2 separate regions of the Homo sapiens genome follow, and region 1 is linked to region 2. Evidence: promoter capture Hi-C in 16 types of primary human blood cells and fetal thymus (Javierre and others, 2016). All regions are on one chromosome and are shown on one strand. The core of a region is centred on a gene start or on the middle of the fragment in contact, and the rest is flanking DNA. Distances in the headings are between cores, read along the strand shown.

Evidence for each region. Contacts are between HindIII fragments. The CHiCAGO score rates a contact against its expected background, and 5 or more counts as called.
Region 1: a contact is called between a fragment that was not itself captured here and the fragment with the promoter of ATG16L2 in region 2, in 13 of 17 cell types (megakaryocytes, total CD8 T cells, M1 macrophages and 10 more). The highest score is 9.2, in megakaryocytes.

The regions. Positions count from the first base shown.
Region 1 is chr11:72,730,038-72,732,737 of GRCh38, forward strand. It overlaps ARAP1 (ArfGAP with RhoGAP domain, ankyrin repeat and PH domain 1), which reads right to left. Exons shown (of 35, transcript NM_001040118.3): 2 at 2,478-2,560. Among named protein-coding and RNA genes, the nearest start is that of ARAP1, 21 kb to the right of the region's middle. The HindIII fragment of the contact is 288 bases long and covers 1,177-1,464 here.
Region 2 is chr11:72,813,077-72,815,776 of GRCh38, forward strand. It overlaps ATG16L2 (autophagy related 16 like 2), which reads left to right and starts at 1,335. Exons shown (of 18, transcript NM_033388.2): 1 at 1,335-1,487. The coding sequence starts at 1,370. It overlaps LOC107984421 (a long non-coding RNA gene), which reads right to left and starts at 991. Exons shown (of 3, transcript XR_007062771.1): 1 at 1-991. RefSeq lists silencers at 488-577, 978-1,427 and an enhancer at 1,958-2,107. The HindIII fragment of the contact is 2,352 bases long and covers 1-2,297 here.

The DNA of each region.
Region 1 (2,700 bases), core at 71-2,570, 83 kb before region 2:
TTGCATGGTAAAAAGCACCATAAGCAAAGCCAAGAGCTAAACAACAAACTAGGGGATATCTGCCACTCATATTCCACACAAAGGGCTCATTTTCCTAAAAGTTGAAAAGCATGCAGAAATAAGAAACGGATCAATAATCTAACAGAAAAATGGGCAAAGAGTATGAATGAAAAAATTTACAAAAAGGAAAATATAAATGGCTCTTAAATATCTGAAAAGGAACTTAACCTCCCCCACACTAGGAAATATGAATGTAAAATATTTTGAAATACTGCTTTCTACCTATCAGATTGTCAAAGAGCAATAAAGTTGGAAAATACAGGCATTGGTGATGTGGTAGGGCATCCCTTCCCTGGCTGTGGAATGCCTCTAGGCATGAAAGCCCTAAGAGATGCAGATGTCTGGGCTGGGCGCGGTGGCTCACACCTGTAATCCCAACACTTGAGGTCAGGAATTCGAGACCAGTCTGGTCAACATGGTAAAATCCCGTCTCTACTAAAAATACAAAAAGTTAGCCAGGCACAGTGGCAGACACCTGTAATCCCAGCTACTCAGGAGTCTGAGGTGCAGGAGAATCGCTTGAACCCAGGATGTGGAGGTTGCAGTGAGCCGAGATCACACCATTGCATTCCAGCCTGGGGGACACTTTGTCCTCCCGCCTCCCCCAAAAACAGAGATGCAGATGGCTGACCCAGCCACCCATAGGCACTTAGCCTGCATTTTTACTGGCACCTGCCAGAATTGACATATATAGAAGGTTACTAGCTACAGTGCCTGTGTTTAATAGCAAAAGAATGGAAATAACCAAAATGGCCATCAATGGGAGAATAGTTAACTAAATTATGTTGTAGTTGTGCAATAGAATACTGAGCGGCCATAAGAATGAGGAAACTCCTCACATATTGACATGGGATGATCTATAAGATACACTGTTAAAGGAGTAAAGAAAAGTGCAGAACAGTTTGTGTAACATTCTCTCTCTGTGAAAAAAACAAGGGGGAGCATGGAGTAGTGTGCAGCTACTGGTAAATGAACAAAGTATCTCTGAAAAGACACATGAGGGCAAGGTGACAACAGTTATCAGCTTCCTCCTAGGACGAAAACTAAGGCCTGAAGGGACAGGAGGGAACAGTGGAAGATGCAGAGTTCACAGGGCCTGAAGTTCATGGGACCTGAAGCTTACACAATTTAAGTGCCCTCTGATATGGTTTGGATGTTTGTCCCCTCCAAATTTCATGTTGAAATGTGACCCCCAATGTTGGAGGTGGACCTAGTGGGAGGTGTCTGGGGTCACGGGGACAGATCCCTCATGAATAGCTTGGTGCCCTCCCCATGGTAACAAGTGAGTTATCACTCTATTTGTTCATGTAAGAGCTAGCTGGTTAAAAGAGCCCGGCTTCTCTCTTGCTTCCTCCCTCACCATGTGACATGCCTGCTCCCGCTTTGCCTTCTGCCCTGACTAAAAGCTTCCTGAGGCCTCACCAGAAGCTGAGCAGATGCTGGTGCCATGCTTATACAGCCTGCAGAGCCCTGAGCCAAATACACCTCTTTTCTTTATAAATTACTCAGGGTATTCCTTGATTGCAATACAAAACAGACTAACACATTCTCCTTAAGAGTATCTCACTTTTGCAAAATTCACAAAAACACATGACCACATGCACACACTGTTCAGGACCCTCTTTAGATCCTGGAAGGAGCCCTGCACCTCAAACTCCAGCTTCCCTGGAAATCCACCTCTGAGGAGAGGGAGACTTTTCACTTCAACATATAAAGATGTCAGTTCCTCCAGGGTTAAGCTAAAACTTTAACACCATCCCAACTAAAATTACCAGCTGGAATTTGTTGAGACCAGCAGATTCTAAAGTTCATATAAAATGATATTAGAGATGTGTTAAGTGGAAAAGCAAGATGCAGAACAGTGTTATGTAAACATCTCGGTTAAAGAAAAAGAAAAAAATATACATATGTTATATATATATGCAAATATAAACACAGAAAACTGGACGGATATATATAAAACTGAGTTTGGGGAGGGGAATTGACAGCTGGGAAGACAGGAGACACTATACCCTTCTGTATCTTTTAAATTTTGTATCATTTTCCAAAAAGTAAATAAAAATTAAAAGGGAATGTGATAACCATGAATAGAGCCTGAGAATGAGAAAGGGAACAAAACTTGCCAGGCAGGGAGGGGAATCCAGTGAGGAGATACATAAACACAGACCTGCAATTCAGCCTGCTGGCCCCTGCCTTGTCCCTCTGTCTCGTACCCCCACCCTGTTCCAAGGTTCCAAGGCCTGCTGGGAGGCTCGTAGCAAGCTCTCTGGGCCTCACCCTCTGCCTCTCAAGCTCAGTTCTCAAAATGGAAAATGGGCTATCAGGTGTCAGCCTCCATCAAGCCTTCCCCGACCTCAATGTTAAGGCCTAGCGTGCCACAGCCAGCCCTGTTCCCACCGCTCCACCTCCTGACTCACCAGCTGGGCTGCCAAGGACGCCCGGGTCCTCCCAGAGACAGCAGCTATTCTGAAGGGCTCCTCATCTCGGCCTGAGGCGGGAGCTGCAAGGACAGGGATGGAGGAGAAAGCCCGTGAGGCAAGGCCACTATGAGATGCCAGAGAAGGAGAGGGGAAGAGGGAGAGGGACAGGGAAAAGGAAAGAAGAAATGGGGGCCAGGCACAGTAGCTCACGCCTGTAATC
Region 2 (2,700 bases), core at 85-2,584:
TAGGAGCCAGGCCCCCTAGAGGCGACGATGTTCCAAACATCAGGCTCGGCCTGTGCAAAGGCCATGGGCGTCTAAGACAATGACATGTGGGGGACTGAGCCCAGCTCACTGGAAGCAGAGCAGGCTACACTGACCTGGGGGCGTCTAGGCCTTCACTGCTTTCTACGTCCTCTGACCCATCCCCATCAGAATCTCAACAGACTCGTCACCTCCAGGGCCTGCACTGCTCTCCCATCGTTGCCCAACTTCTCTCGTTCCCTAGGGATGTTCAAGTCTGCCAACACTCAGAGGGCAGGGCCTGCTGGCATGCCCCAGGGTGAGGCTGTGCCCAGCGAGTCCCTCCTTTCGTGTCTCACAGTAGCCTGAGCCTGCAGAGCTGGCTCTCTAGCATCTAGCTAGAGACGGTTTGACCACAGTTCCCTGCGACCCATGATTCACTTTCGAGGGTACCCACAAGAGATGTGTCTGCTCCTCCAGACGCCGCCCAATGGGGTGAAGCGTCTGGCCCTGAGTCAGGATGCTGGGGTGCTGGCCGTCTCAGCTACCCACTCCTTTGCAACCCCAGGCAAGCAAGCTCGTTCTCTCCTCCCGGCCAGGGGCTTTCTAGATGAAATCAGCTGCACCCCTTTACTCTCAGGGACCTAAAATTTCGGCGACCATGTGGAGCCGTAAACCCTTCTGCCTCCTGTCCTCCCAGCCCCGCACCCACCTGGCGTTTTCGTGTCACGGAACCTCTGCACGTGCTCTTCTCGAGGCCTAGAGTCCCTCTCTCCCTCTGGCCAACTCCTATTTCATCCCTCACAGACCCAACTCGAACGCCATCATCCCCGGAAAGCGGGGATTCCTCCCTTCAGTCTCTGCTTCCTTATCTTGCTGTCCTGCTGCGCCGCGCCCTCAGTGTACGCGCAGAGCCCGGGGCTGAGGGCCTCTGGGTCCCTGGCTGGGTGCGCGGCCAGGAGCGCGACGGCCTGGGAAGCACCAGCGGCTCTCGAACTCGGCCCGGGCGCGGCGGGGTTAAGACACCCGGGCCTTGAGGGCCCCGCCTCCGGAGCGCTCCACCCGCGTGGGGGAAGCCTCCCCGGAGGCTCCGACCTCGCTCCTGCTTATGACCCTCGCAGCCACAGGAGCCCCCACTTAGGTGAACATTTCGGACGGGGCCCCGGCGGTTCAGACCCGGAGGCGGCTCCTCCCGGAGGCAGATCCTCCCGGCGTCGGCCTTCGGTCCTCCCCGCCAAAGCCCTCTTGGGACAAGCCGGGGATTCCCCGCCGCCGCCCGCCCCCTGGCGTCACGGAGTCCCCGCGAGGCCCCGCCCCGGCCTGGCGCCGTCCTGGGCGGGAGGAACGCGCCGCTAGGCGGGAGAGCGCGGCCATGGCGGGGCCGGGCGTCCCCGGTGCCCCCGCAGCGCGCTGGAAACGCCACATCGTGCGGCAGCTGCGGCTTCGGGACCGTACGCAAAAGGCGCTTTTCCTGGAGCTGGTGCCGGCCTGTGAGTGCGCCCCGGTGCTGAGAGGATGGCGGCTGAGGGGACGCGGCTACGGGCGCGGGGAGAGGGTTTGGCTGGCTCCTCCGCCTGTGACCCGAGTGCGCTGTGCCTTATGCCTTGAGCCTGTGCGTTACGCCCATCCCGACTGCCAGGACTCCGCCCCTTGCCATCCAGGCTCTGGTTAGAACCTGGACGAGCCCCTCCTGGTCCCCCTGCCCTCGTCGCCCCTCAGGACGGGCTCTGCCTCCCACAAGCTGGGCTTCCGAGACGCAAGTGCGTCCTCGGGTGTTGGTTTTGCAGGGTCTCTTTTGCCTCCCCACCCGGGCAGTCCCCGGGGTAGGGGCTTGATCAGTGCACTTAGTCTCGGTAGCGCAGTGAAAGAACGCGGGACTTGTCCAGAGCAGCCACTTATTGGCCCATCCGGAGAGGGGCGACACTCGGAACCTCTAAGGAGGAGGCTGTGCATCTCAGGCTCTGCCGCTGACAGGCGACGCTGGCACAGGCTTATGGAACACCTCCCTGTCAGCCTACCCAGCCTGAGGGGGCATCAGGGGGCCCCGGGCTGCTGGTGGATGCTGGCTGAGCCCAGCGAAGTCGGACTCTCAGAATTGTTTCTGGGCAGCTGGTCAGGATAGGGTGTGGCATTTCAAGAGGGGATGAACAGGTGTGCCTGTGTGTCGCACCTCTGGCCGCCTGCGATTGTATGTCTGTGGTTGGAAGTCTAACCACAATCCCTGCGGCTCTCTCACTGGGGCTAATCTTGGCCAAACCCCCACAATCAAATCTGCTCTTAGCCAGGAAAATTTCTCTGCAAGCTTCCAGGCTGCTGGTCCTCTACCTTCAGGGTTGCGAGGCCAGCCCCCACCTCCAGCAGCCACACTTCTCCACTGCTCAGACAGACAGTGGAACCGTCCAGTTTGAGGGAGGGGGTCACCGCCCCCCCAACCCCTGCCCCCCGCCCCGACCCAGGGAGCTGTGAGTCTGAGGGACTAGAGAGATCTGGAGGGCTGAAATCAGACTGAAGGGCCAGTCTTGAAACCTTGGGCAGATCACATCGCTAAGCCTCAGTCTTCTTACTTGTTAATTGGGTATAGAGACCTTCTTTAGGTTTGCTGGGTGCTGCAGTACCCTGGGGGCTGAGGTGGGGTTTTCATGAGAACTAGGCCAGGCCCAGGGCCTCAGTCAAGGTGACAGGGCACTGAGTGTGGGAAGGAAG